Linked DNA regions of Homo sapiens: region 1 is linked to region 2. Evidence: promoter capture Hi-C in 16 types of primary human blood cells and fetal thymus (Javierre and others, 2016). All regions are on one chromosome and are shown on one strand. The core of a region is centred on a gene start or on the middle of the fragment in contact, and the rest is flanking DNA. Distances in the headings are between cores, read along the strand shown.

What was found. The method cuts DNA at HindIII sites, captures the fragments that hold promoters and counts their contacts. A CHiCAGO score of 5 or more calls a contact.
Region 1: a contact is called between a fragment that was not itself captured here and the fragment with the promoter of ZNF239 in region 2, in 1 of 17 cell types (non-activated CD4 T cells). The highest score is 5.4, in non-activated CD4 T cells.

Annotation. Positions count from the first base shown.
Region 1 is chr10:42,640,739-42,647,608 of GRCh38, forward strand. It overlaps LOC105378268 (a long non-coding RNA gene), which reads left to right. Exons shown (of 2, transcript XR_945898.3): 2 at 4,255-4,804. Among named protein-coding and RNA genes, the nearest start is that of ZNF33B, 5.6 kb to the left of the region's middle. RefSeq lists a silencer at 843-1,137. The HindIII fragment of the contact is 6,471 bases long and covers 407-6,870 here.
Region 2 is chr10:43,569,159-43,575,876 of GRCh38, forward strand. ZNF239 (zinc finger protein 239) reads right to left here and starts at 5,458. Exons shown (of 4, transcript NM_001099282.2): 1 at 5,382-5,458; 2 at 4,479-4,519. RefSeq lists a silencer at 5,181-5,240. The HindIII fragment of the contact is 4,716 bases long and covers 4,835-6,718 here.

The DNA.
Region 1 (6,870 bases), core at 2,392-4,891, 930 kb before region 2:
AGTGCCTGGTGCCGCAGAGAAAACCAGCACAAAGGCAGAAAATTCCTCAGCAAGAGAAATTTACTTCTGCAGAAGGGTGCAGGTTATGCCAGTCATGATCACAAGAGAACACCGAGAAGGGCAGGGCAGGGGTTTTTATCCCTGATGCAGTTCCTAGCACTTCTGTGTCCCTTCCCCATTGGCTGGGATTAGACCTCACAATCAAAGCTAACTCGATTGGCTAAGGTTTAAAATTGACAGGGTCTATTAGGCGGGAAGGAAGGGGGACTGTCCATTACTAAGCGGGAAGGCATATCCGGACTTGTCTGGGCATGGCAAAGGCGGGAAGGTTGTTTACAGAACAGGTAGCTTGGAGACAAGGAAGTACAAGGAAGTTGGTCTTGAGCAACAAACAACAGGGAACTAAAGCTTTCTGAAGAGTAATTTGTCAACTCTGACATTGCTGACTCCTATTTCTTGGTATGGATTTACCAGCTTCCTTGTCCATTCCCCAGTCCAGGGATATGCAAGTTGTTTCCAATTGGGAGAAATTGTAAATAAATAAAATATTTTTAAGTTTAAGATTTGAAAAGATTGTAAAAAACACTAATATACACCTATGGTATGGGCTTGGGGAAATGTTTATTCCCAGTGTATTAATCAGGATTCTCCAGAGAAACAGAACCAATAGGAGGGAGTAAGGGAGAAAGAGACATTGATGATGAGAAATTGGTTCACATGTCTATGGAGGCTAAGAAGTCCAACAATCTGTCATTTGCAAGCTGGAAATCCAAGAATGCTGGTGGTGTAATTCTGGTATGAGTCCAAAGGCTTGAGAACCACGGAAGCCAATGGTGTAAATCCCAGTGCAAGGACAGGAAAGGATAAGATGAAATGTCCCAACTCAACAATGAGGCAGAAAATATGGGTGAATTCCTCCTCTCTGCCTTGTGTTCTATCCAGGCCCTTAGGGGATTGAATGATGTCCATACACATACGGAGGGCAATCTGCTTTACTGAGTCTACTGATTCAAATGCTAATCTCATCTGTACACACCCTCACAGATGCACCCATAAGTAATGTTTAATCCAGACACCCTGTGACCAAGTCAAGTTTACACATAAAATTAACCATTAACCATCACAGCTATTCTATTTTTTTTTTTTTTTTTTTTTTTTTTTGAGACAGAGACAGAGTTTTGCTCTTGTTGCCCAGGCTGCAGTGCAATGGCATGATCTTGGCTCACTGAAACCTCTGCCTCCCGGGTTCAAGTGAGTCTCTCAAGTAGCTGGGATTACAGGCATGTGCTACCGTGCCTGGCTAATTTTTTGTATTTTTCCTAAAGACGGGGTTTCTCCATGTTGTTCAGGCTGGTCTCGAACTCCCGACCTCAGGTGATCCACCAGTCTCGGCCTCCCAAAGTGCTGAGATTACAGGCCTGAGCCACCACACCTGGCCACAGCTATTCATTTTTACGGTGAATTTGATTAACTCTGGAGGCTCATTTTTTCCTCTCATTTCTTCTTCGGTTTTTGTACCTTTTTCCCTTTTACATTTCGTTGACACCTAATAATTGTGCATATTTAGGGGATATAGACTGATATTTTGACATGTGTATAAAATGTATAATGATCAAATCAGGTTAATTAGCATATCCCTCACCTCAGACATTTGTGTGTGTGTTGTAAGCATTCAAAATCCTCTCTTCTAGCTTTTTGAAAATACACAATAAATTACAGTCAATTATATTTATCCTACAGGGCTGTGGAACACCAGAGCTCATTTCTTCTATCTAGCTGTAATTTTGTATTCATATACCAACCTTTCCCCATCCTGCCCTCCCCACTACCCCCTCACCCTCTAATGCCCATAATTCTACTCACTACTTCTATGAGCCCCAATTTTTTTAGCTCCCAAATATAAGTGAAAATGTGCAGTAATTATCTTTCTGTGTCTGACTTATTTCACTTAATGACATCCAGGCCTATCCATGTTGTGGCAAATGACAGGATTTCATTTTTATAGCAGAGTAATATTCCACTGTGTTTATATACCAGATTTTCTTTTTCCATTGATGTGTTGGTGGACGTTTAGGTTGATATTATATTTTGGCTATTGTGAATAGTGTTGCTATAAACACAGGAGTGCAGGTATCCCTTTGATATATGGATTTCCCTTCCTTTGGATATGTGCCCAGCAGTGTGATTGTTGGATTGTATGGTAGTTCCGTTTTATTTTTTAAGAAACCTCCACACTGTTTTATATAGTGGTTGTACCAATTTACATTCCCACCAACAGTGTCTAAGAGTTCCCTTTTCTATGCATCCTTACCAGCACTTATTTATTTTTCTTATAATAGACATTCTAACTAGGGTGAGATGATGCCTCATTGTGATTTTGATTGGCATTTCCCTGATGATTAGTGATGCTGGACATTTTTCATACATTTGTTAGCCATTTGTATGTCTTCTTTTAAGAAATAATTATTCAGATCCTTTGCCTGCATTTTAATCAGATTACTTTTGTTTTTGTTTTTGCCATCGAGTTGTTTGAGTTATTTGTATATTCAGGATATTTGTCCCTTTTGGATAAATAGTTTGCAAGTATTCCCTACCATTCTACAAGTTGTCTCTTCACTTCCATAATTGTTTCCTTTGCTGTGCAGCTTTTTAGTTTAATACAGTCCCACTTCTTTTTGTTGTTGTTGTCTGTGCTTTTGTTTGTTTGTTTATTTTGAGACAGAGTCTCACCCTGTTGCACAGGCTGGAGTGCAGTGGTGTGATTATAGCTCACTGTAGCCTCTACCTCCTGGGCTCAAGTGATCCTCCTGCCTCAGCCTCCCGAGCAGCTGGGATTACAGGTGCCCACCAGCATGCCTGGCTAAATTCTGTATTTGTAGTAGAGATGGGGATTCACCATGTTGCCCAGGCTGGTCTCGAACTCCTGTGCTCAAGAATCTGCCCACCTCACCCTCCCAAAGTGCTAGGATTACAGGTGTACACCACTATGCCTGGCCTGTCTGTGCTTTTTTTTTTTTTTTTTTTTTTTTTTTGAGATGGAGTCTCACTGTGTTGCCAGGCTGGAGTGCATTGGCTTCAACCTGGCTCACTGCAATCTCTGCCTCCTGGGTTCAAGCAATTCTCCTGCCTCAGCCTCCCAAGTAGCTGGGATTACAAGTGTGCACCACCACACCCAGCTAATTTGTGTGTGTGTGTGTATTTTTAGTAGAGATGGGTTTTCACCATGTTGGCCTCAATCTCCTGACCTTGTGATCCACCCACCTTGGCCTCCCAAAGTACTAGGAGTGCATCACCATGCCTGGCCCTGTCTGTGCTTTCTAAGTCTTAGTCATAAAACTTTTGCCTAGGCCAATGCCCTGAAGAGTTTGCTCTAGGTTTTCTTCTAGTATGTTTACAGTTTTGGTCTTATGTTTAAGTCTTTAATCCATTTTGAGTTGATTTTTGTATACGGTGACAGGTAGGGATCAAGTTTTGTCCTTCTGCATATGGATATCCAGTTTTCCCAGCACAATTTATTGAACAGGTGGCCCTTTACACAATGTACGTTCTTGGCATTTTAATTAAACGTTAAAGGACTTATAATATTATAATTCCACTTATATGACTTTGTAATAATAAATTATTGTTGATATATGTGCAAGTATATTTAAATCAATCAGAGTTCAAATGGTAACAGAGAGATCACTCAAGTATTACAACTGAGAGAATTTGATGAAGATTATTTAAAGCAGGTGTTTTAATGGTAAAAATGAACACTGAGCTAACACAGGATGACAACATCAGGTAGCAGCTACCTGTCTAGGGCTGGGAAACAATGGAAAAGATTAAGGTTCTCGGAACCTAGAAACTCACAAGAGTGGCCCCAGAGAGCTAGAATTAGACAAGACAGCGGAGGCAGGGGCAGTGCCAGGATCATGCTGGTACCTCAGGTATTCAGAGAAGAGCTTTGCAGAACTGGAATTCAGATGCTGTCCAGTTGCTAACTGAACTTTCAGGAAGGCATGTTGAAGCACATTGTGTTCACCTCTGAAAGTCGTTACTGTCCAGCTGGTGCTAGTAGCCAGAGTGGGATCAATGTGGAGAGTTCTGGGAGAGCTAAAAGAAGCTGGAGGGTGATCAACATGTTCTGGAATTAGATAGTGGTGATGGTTGTGTAACTTTGTGACTATAATTATTGAATTACACACTTTTAAAGGAGTAAATTTTGTATGTAAATTGTATGCCAATGTTACAAATACTTTTTTTTTTTTTTAGACGGAGTCTAGCTCTGTCACCAGGCTGGAGCACAGTGGCATGATCTCGACTCACTGCAACCTCCACTGAAGAAGGAATTCATGAATTTTACAAGTATAATCAAAGACCACCAAGAAATTTTTACTTTTTCCTTCAAAAGCTAAGTGTAGTGTAGCACCCCCTGCCCATAGTCTAAGTTACAGAAGAATACTAACTGCCTGTTTTTCTTTCTGTGTTGTGAGCCTTATCTGTTCTCACCAGTTTCACATTCCTTGAGGCTCAGTGAGTTCCTGCGCACCTCCCTAGCACAGCTGCAAAGTTACAAGGTTGATATGCATATGTTACAGAAACATAGTTTCCCAAGGATGTGGAACATGTAGTATAGATAAATGTAAAAGACTGATCAACTGCCTTTGTTCTCGCTTGTGTAAGTAGACTTCATGAATCACATAGCTCCCGGCCACTGACTGCTTAAAAGGTGGCTGCATTCTTTCTCCAGGGCTCAGACTTTCCTGGACGCTAGTCCTACTGAGCCAGGTGATCCCCTTAATAAAGGCTTTCCTGAACTCTCTTCAGTCTCTCCCGTCTCTGATTGTCCCATAACATTTCTGGGGGCCTGTCTGGGATTGGAGATGGCAGGTTTCTGTCTCCTTTGCCTGTGGGCTAAAGCCACAGGACGCGGGAGATTTGGGAACTTTGGTGCCACTGGGGAAGACTTAGCCCAGAAGGAGAACGGCTCCCATGTATTGGAGCCTCGCCCTGACAGCGCAAACGGAACCGACTCAGGAGTTGCAGGACAGTCACAGGAGCAGTGCGCTGGCAGACTACTGAACCGCCATAAGGTTGGGCCCTGGAAAAGCCCATCCCATAAGGACAGAAGGGGAGCTTGATTACCTTCCCCGGAACGATCACTTATCCAACCCAGAGTGGCTGGGGGCAGCAGGAGTGGCCTGCCAATTTGGATGAATCTCGTGTCCCCACACAAGCAAAAGTGGTTCACTGGATCTGGAGACAGAAACTGGGAGTGTTTTGGTGTGTGTGAACCTACTCGGGACATAAAGAAGGCTTCTTTCATCTGATCAGTCCTGGGGTAGGAGTGGTTTGTGTATGTGTGTGAATGTGGAAGCCTAACTAAGCTCACTCGGGACATGAGAGAGGCTTGTTTCATCCGATGAGGAGTCCTGGGGCAGGGGAGGTGTGTGAAAGTGTGTGAAAGAGGTGGTCTCGGAGAAGCCAACACGGGGAGTGATGTGGGGAGTTGCAGATCTTAGTGCAGACTGTGTCCCTCAAGGTGAGTGTGGGACAAGCCAGACCTAGGTCACTGCATAAGACCGACAAGATTCACTTCATGGTAGCTTCACAGCAGTAGTTGGCTGTGACCTGGCCAAGCAGCATCCAAACCTCCTGTAATAGGACCCTGTCTGGTGCATCCAAGAGTGAAAGTGAGAGTGAAAGTGTGCCACGAGGGAGGCAATAGGAGGAAAAGTATTGAAGCCAACTCCATTAGAACATATGTTGAAGAACTTTAAGAAAGGCTCTGATGGTGATTATGGAATGAAGTTAACACCGCAGAGGCTAAGAACACTTTGTGAAATTGACTGCCTCTCCTTCAACATAGGGAGGGCGGCCAAGGGAACCATAGATAGGGAAATAATTGGCCGAGTATTTAGGGTGGTCACTGGGGTTGGAGAACAGCCTGGACAACCTGATCAGTTCCCATACATAGACTCCTAGCTGAGCGTGATTCAAACCCATCTGAAATGGCTACAGGCCTGTTTTGAAAATTATTGTAAGACTCTGGTGGCTCGTACAAAACAAGGAACCATAGAAAAGACCCACAAAGTGTAGGCCCAGGAGAAAGAACAGCAAGGAAAACAGGAAAAACCTGTCCTACAGGCCCCACTAGAAGAGCTAGAGACTCCATCCCCTTATGTTCCAATTTATCCGCCTCTGGCAAGGCTTAGGCAGGAAGTCACTCCAGCAGCTGCCTGTGGAGGGTCAGACTCAGAGGAGAGTACCCTTCAAACTTCACCACATAGGGAAGAGCCAGGGTCACTGCCCGATAATTCAAAGGAGGAACTCCAGTATGACGGCCATCTCCGGTCAGGACACGCCCGAGCTTTGCAGATGCCATTCAGAGAACCTAGGGGACAGATCTATTTAGATGCACAAAATGAGGTTCAAGGAGGAGAACGGCTTTATGTTTATCAGCCCTTCTCTACTACAGATATTTTCAACTGGAAACAGCATACTCCCTCCTATACAGAAAAACCCCAGGCTCTTATCGACCTGATGCAGTCCATCTTCTTAACTCACAACCCAACCTGGGCTGACTGCAAGCAGTTCCTTCTGTCACTGTTCAATACAGAAAAACACTGCAGAGTAATACAAGTGGCTTATCAGTGACTAGAAAGCAATGCTCCAGTAGGCACAGGAGATGTCAGAAAGTATGCTCAGCAGGCTTTGCCAATAGAAACTGACCCAGGCTGGGACCCAAATCAGGCCTAAGGGCTGCTGAACTTGCTGAGATACCAAGGGGCTCTGATACAAGGAATAAAAGCTGGAGGGAAAAAGGCAACAAACACTGGAAAGGTTTCAGAGGTCCATCAGAAACCAGATGAAAGTACCAGTGAGTTC
Region 2 (6,718 bases), core at 4,208-6,707:
TCATTCTCATCCTCACATCTCACCTATCACCCACCTCCTTTACCGCTAAAGCATATCGGCATCCACCCAGCTCCCCTGCCCTGCACTGTCACCTCTCTAGGCCTAGGCAGCACTTGCTCTCACCCACATCAACCTCCTGGTTGGTCTGACTCTACTCCTGCTCCCCCAAACATGAGTTTTCCACATGACAGCCAAGGTGATCTTTTAAAACAAAAACAAGGCCAAGCATGAAACCCTCCAAAGGCTTTTCAGTGGCCATCCAGTAAAATCCAGACTCTTCATCCTGGCCCATGAGGCTCTCCTGTCACCTCCCCAACCTAGGCCTCTCTTATGATCATATTCAGCACCAGTGACCCAGCAGGCCCTTGAACTGCATCAAACTCATTGTAGCTTCTGCACTAGCTGCCCTCTCCATTCCTCATGATTCAGCTCTCAGTCCAACTGTTGCCTCTTCAGAAAGCATGTCACTGACCATCTAATCCACTGGAGCATCCTGTATATATCATTTTCCTGGTTTAATTTAATTAATTTCTTCTTATAACTTATGCCTTACCTTATTTTCTTATTCACTTGCTTTCTTATTTACTGTCTTTCCCTGCTGAGATTTAAATTCCCCAAGAATAGAGAGGCTGCCTCATTTGTTCATGACTGCATCCCCAAGACCTCAAGCAGGGCCTGGCACATAAAGGGAGTCCAAATATTTACTCAGTCAATGTCAGCAAATCTGGTTCCCTTCAGGGCTCTGTCTGATGAAGCAATGCTTCTTAAACTACCTGTGGTGAAGAACCAGTTTTTTTTTGTTTTTGAAACTCTCAATTTCAGTACTTATATCTGCACAGTGCATGGGCTGGCACCACTCTCTAAGGCACAATTTCAAAAGTAAAGTGATAGAATATATAAAAAGTCATAAAGGCTGTCTCATAAATTTGATCAGCTAAGCCAGCTTTGGCCTGAGGCTAAAGAGGCACCACTCCCTCCTTCCTTGGGCCTGCCCTGCAGGAGTGACATGACTTACCCAACTTGTCACCAGTGGGGAAGGATGAGGGTAAAGATGAAGGTAAGGATGGGTGCTGTCTCCCAAGCTTTCTGTTCAAGGTCACTGGTCTCCATTCTGAGGAAGAGGGCTGGAAAAGGAGGCTCAAGCCCCGGAGTAAAGGTGGGACAAACAAACAGAAGCAAAGGTTGCTGCCTTCAAGCTCCATCACCACATCCTTTAGCAAGGCATGACCCATGGCATATTAAAAGCAAGTGGACTGGCTGCTCTTCCCAACCAGACCTTCTCTTCAGACCACAGAGAAAAAAAAATTTCTTTCTGTTTAAGGCTAATCTCTTCCTGTGCATTCTAGATCAAATCCCTTCTTCTATCTTCAGAGATGCAAGCCCACCAATTATCTTTTCTCTCCCTTATTTTTTTATCCGTCTTCCATTCAGTTGTCTGGATTGTCTAATCCTCCTTCTCTACCTCAACAATATTCAAACCATTTCAGATCCTGTCAATTCTGCCTCCTAAATTTCCCTCCAATGTGTTACCTCTTTTCCATTTCCACTGCCAGTCTTAGTAAGACCCTTATTTTTTTTCTTACCTAGGCTACAATAACTCCTTACCAATTCTTTGTAGTACAATTTTTGTCATCTTCCAGTCCCTAGGTTAGACAACCAGAGTTATTAATTTTTTAAGGTCCTCAAGATAAAATGGCAGGCGGGACTCCATTCTGAGAAGGGAAAGGATATGTTGGTGGACTACTAACTTTGTGGTAGGTAAAAAAAATGACAGGAGTAGACCAAATGAAAAGAATCATTGTGACAAGGGAAAGGAGAAAAGGAAAGGAAATTAGTGCTCCTGTTAAAGCAAGACAAAGGTGGGACTGAAACACTGAATAATCAACAGTCTTCCCAGGTATCAGTGGCACTAAGGAGTCACTCCAAGGCTGTGCTCCTGCTTACAGTTGGGAGAGCAGACTTGATATTCTAAAGGCCAACCAAAGAGGAAGGTCACAAGTTCAATTGTTTCCTGTTTCTATCAGACAAATGTCGACCTCCTCAGAACTACATACATGCCATCATGTGGCCTTCCACTTCTTTCTAGAGCCCATCTCTGCTGTATCTAACAATTTACTTTGAAGTGGAAAAGCAGGAAGAGGCACACTAGATTACCTGGAGTCATTCAACACATTACACTTGAGTCTAGCACAGTCCTTTCTATAGTAAGCCCTAACTTATTGAGTTCTCCCATCCATTTTGGAGCTTTCAGTCTCAGGACAATAGCCTCTTTCTGAAGCATGAGGATGAGTTAGAATTCTCCTCCTCTGAGATCTCATAGCATCTTTCACATCCCTCTACTATAGCTATTAAGTCTCTCCCAAGTTGGCTGGAAGATTCTGAAGGATAGGGGCTACACTCAACTCATCTTTGTTGTTTGAAACAGAGTCTCACTCTGTTGCCCAGGCTGGAGTGCAGTGGCATGATCTCAGCTCACTACAACCTCCACCTCCCGGGTTCAAGAGATTCTCCTGCCTCAGCCTCCCGAGTAGCTGGGATTACAACAGGCATCAACATGACCAGCTAATTTTTGTATTTTTAGTAGAGATGAGGTTTCACTATGTTGGCCAGGCTGGTCTCAACTCCTGACCTCAGGTGATCCTCCCCACTCAGTCTCCCAAAGTACTGGGATTACAGGTGTGAGCCACCATGTCTGGCCTCAACTCATCTTTAAATCCCCAGCAACTACCACAATTGACTTGGAATCTGAAAGATAAATATAAATTCACATTCAATTTAAATGAATAATAATACAACTAAAAGAAAACATAAAGATGGTCAAGCCCAAGACCCTCAGTTTACAGAGAAAAAAACCACAGTTCATAAGGGCGAAGTGACTTACCCAATGTCACAGAGGAAAAGCAGGGTTAACTAAGACTCCCGCCTTTCAGCAGACCTAAGGACAATGTGTGGTACATAGAAAACACACAATGCTTGGAATGAAGTCCTTCCTTTAAATTAAAAAAGTTGTTGTGTAACACACACCAGAATCTCAAAATTTACTAAACTGGCAATCCCCAGTTGCAGCGGCAGTGAATACTTAATCATTAGGGAGCAGGCAGAAGCGAAGGAAGGAAAATGTATTGATTCTACTAAGGTTAATCTCCCTTGAAGTCCTCAATTACTTTTCAGGGCACAGAGAAGCCATGCTCTCAGTACCTCAAGTCAGCTTACTGTCCTCTAAACAGATTTTTTCTAAGAGCTCATGTGTGTGAGGGCTGTATTTGCCAAGCAAAAAGATGGCCTTTGCTGGTAGTGTTAAAAAACATTTTTTTTCCCTTAAAACGCAGTCTGATATTTTATTCAAACAACTTCTGATGTGATGACCTGTTTAGTTAATGGAGAAAGAACAGCCTGAAGGAAGAAAACACGGGGTTTATTTCTGGCCTTCTGCTCTCTGAAACAAAGGACAAGGCACTTTCCTTCGGCTCTCTCAGAGTTAGCCGAGTTAGAGCTCTCCACCATAAAACGCCAGGACAGGGCAAAGAGGGGGCCGACCATCTCAAACACCATGGGATTCTAAGTGGGGGCTGACCATCTCAAATACCCTGGGAGTCTAAGGGTTAATTTTGAGGTAACCTCCTACAGATGGTTTTATGGGGACAACTGAAAACTCTCTTTAAAAAAGTACGACTTGGTAATTTAAAATTTACTGGAACAGTTAAATATGTAGACATGCTAGTGAAAGAGAACAAATCAACCTGAGTATAAAGGATGAATAACTCATTTTACCTACCCTAGAGACACTTATAGTGTATAGAGAGATATTTCACAATAAACCTTTGGATGTACAAAGATCAACAGAATAAAAAAGGAGTGAAACTCTCCTTTCACTAGGTCTGGAAGAGAGAAGGAAGCTTAGTTCTTAAAAAACACCACAGAGAGTTCTGATGCATAGCCTAGTTGAAAAGCATTTCTAGAGTGATTTTGTAACCACTGTGCTGCCATTTAACGAATTTCCTCGTTTTTGACTCATAGTTAATAAATTATCACTATTAATATGCATTTTTTTGTGTACAGGTAATATAATATGTTCATCAAGATGGTAAGCTCCTTGAAGAAAAGCACCGTGGTTTATCATTCTATCTGTTTTGCTGAGACCACTTAGCACTGGGATGAGTATGGAATAGCTTGGAATGACTTTCAATGTGAGTGAAATGTCTGGCAGGAAAAGGCAGGCTTTGAGAGGCTCCCCAGGAGGGCACAGCCCACTGCTCTGAGGAGTGGAATAAATTCTTGGAGGCAGGATGGGCCAGTGAAAACTCTCTGTGCAGACCCTGGTGACATCATCTGCTAGCTACATGTCCTTAGTATCTTAATGTCCCTACATCCATAGCTATAAAATACCGTACTGGGGGCCTGACAATAAAGAAAACAACACATGGCACAGGGACATTTCAGGGAGATGGCATTTTAGGAGAAATGGAACGCCAACTCACCCGGACCCTGGTCATTTCTTACTCCCAGAGGGGATGGATTCCTGGAAAGGCAGAGTTAGGGAAAGAGAAAAAGCCATGAAAATCAAGTCCAGCAAGACTGCGGGGAAAAAGTTACTCCGCTCCTGCCTCTGACGCTTCTTCAGTCACTTCCACCCACACTCCCTCCATCAGGTGAGAGGTGAAGCATTTTCTGTCACCACCTTCATCTCTCTCCACAGGGCTTTCGATTAAACAAGCCAAGTTTTCCCCCCAAAACCAAGAGGCTAGGTAAATTCCGCAGCCGCCGGCAGCTCGAAGCCGTGCCCATTTCCTCTGACTTTCCCGATCTCTGTCCTAAAGTTCTAGTTAAGAGGAGAAGCTTCTCGGGATGGATTTCGGTTGCCCAAGACGCCTTCCCCGACCTCATTCTCAGGAGCCTGGCTCGTTCCTGCGGTGCGGGGGCTCAGATGCAAGCTCTTTTCAGCGAAGGCAGTGCTGCGGACAGAAACCTCAGTCTCTTACAGGAGCCCCCGTCCGTCGCCTAACGTCCACCGAAAACCCCCCTGCAATAACGCCCGTCACAGGCGAGGAAAAGGCCGGCGTGGCCAACCACGAAGCCCCCAGCCGGCCCAGGCCAGAGCTCGGCCAGGAGGGAGGAGGGGCCATCGGAGGCGCGGCCGCTCAGCTGCAGGGCCCCACAGGCTTCGGTGTGGCCGCAGCCCGGCCCCGGGGGCGCAGCAGCTCGGAAATGCGGCGCCGGGACACACGTGCCGCCGCGGGCCGCGCCTCCGCTGGTCGCGTGCCCTACCATCGCCGCCCTCCCGGCTTCCGCAGCTCGGCGGCCCAGCGCCTTACCCGCGGCACACCCATTTCCTGACCCCTGAACGCCTCTGCCAGCGGCTGGGGAAGCCCGGCCAGTCTCACCTCCCACGTGGAACCCCACGCCTGCAGGGGCCAGATTCCGGATGCTGACCGCTCGCGCGCCTAGGGCCCCGAAATACAAGTCCCAGCAAGCCGCGGGCGAACCACGCCCACTTCCGGCGCGGGCCCCTGAACTCTGCGCTGTGCGGAGCGGGATTCTTGGGCGGAGGGGACCATCTTTGAGTCAGCGACGCGTGTATTCAAGTCCTCCTCCTCGTTTTTTATTACAAACAAATAAGAATTATTTTAGGAATACCTGTTAAGGTGATTTTCATTTGTTAAAATACTATTGGGGGAAAAGGATGTAAATACCCATAATTTCATCTTTACCTTTCAAAACATTCTGAAGTGAATATTTGCCATTCGGCATCTTCCATCTCACCTCTGAAGTTCATCCATTTAACAGATATTAATTGAGAGCCAACTGTGTACCAGGAGCTGTTCAAGATGCTTGCACAAAAGTCACTGCCCTATTCTAGTTGGGGAAACAAGCAATCCATAAATATAGTAAATATATGGCGTCGTGTGTGTCATGAGGTGGTACTGAAAGCATAGAGCTGGGCGGGGTGTGGCGAGGTGCGTTTGTGGGTGTGTAGGACTGGAGGTGTACTTTGCAATTTTAAATAGGGGATCTTGGAACAAACACAGGAGGTGAGGGAATTAGACAAGTGGCTCCCAGCAGTCAGAACTCTCCTAAACGCACACAAGGGTTGTTGATACCAGGATTTTACGTTTATTTCACTTCTCACCGAGTGACACAGAGCTACCCATTTGGTCTTTTCCCAATTCCTTTCTTTCAGATTTATTTTGGAGAGGAAAGAGATGTTGCCTGGACCTCTCTTCTACATCCTCCCCCTTCCTTGGTGTATTAGTTTCCAATTGCTGTCACAACAAATTAACACAAACTTAGTAGTATAACAAACATGTATTCTCTTAAACTTCTGGAGGTGCCAAGTCTGAAATCAAGTTTTACTGGGCTTTATAAAGTCAGTGTTGGTGGGGCTAGTTCCTCCTGGAGGTTCTAGATGAGAATATTTCTTTGCCTTTTCCAGTTCCCAGTGACTATTTGCATTCCTTGGCTTATGGCTCGCTCCTTTATCTTCAAAGTGCATGACTGCAACCTCTGCCTTCATCATCACATCACATGCTCAGGCACTGGCTCCTCGTGGGTCCTTCTAATAACGACTGTTGTGATTACATCAGGCCCAGCTGGCTAATCTGGGATAATCTCTTGACGTCAAGATCCTTAATTTAATCACATTTCAAAAAAAATCCCTCTTGCCATAGAAATTAACATCCACAGCTTCTGGGGGTTAGGACATGGACATATTTGGGGGACT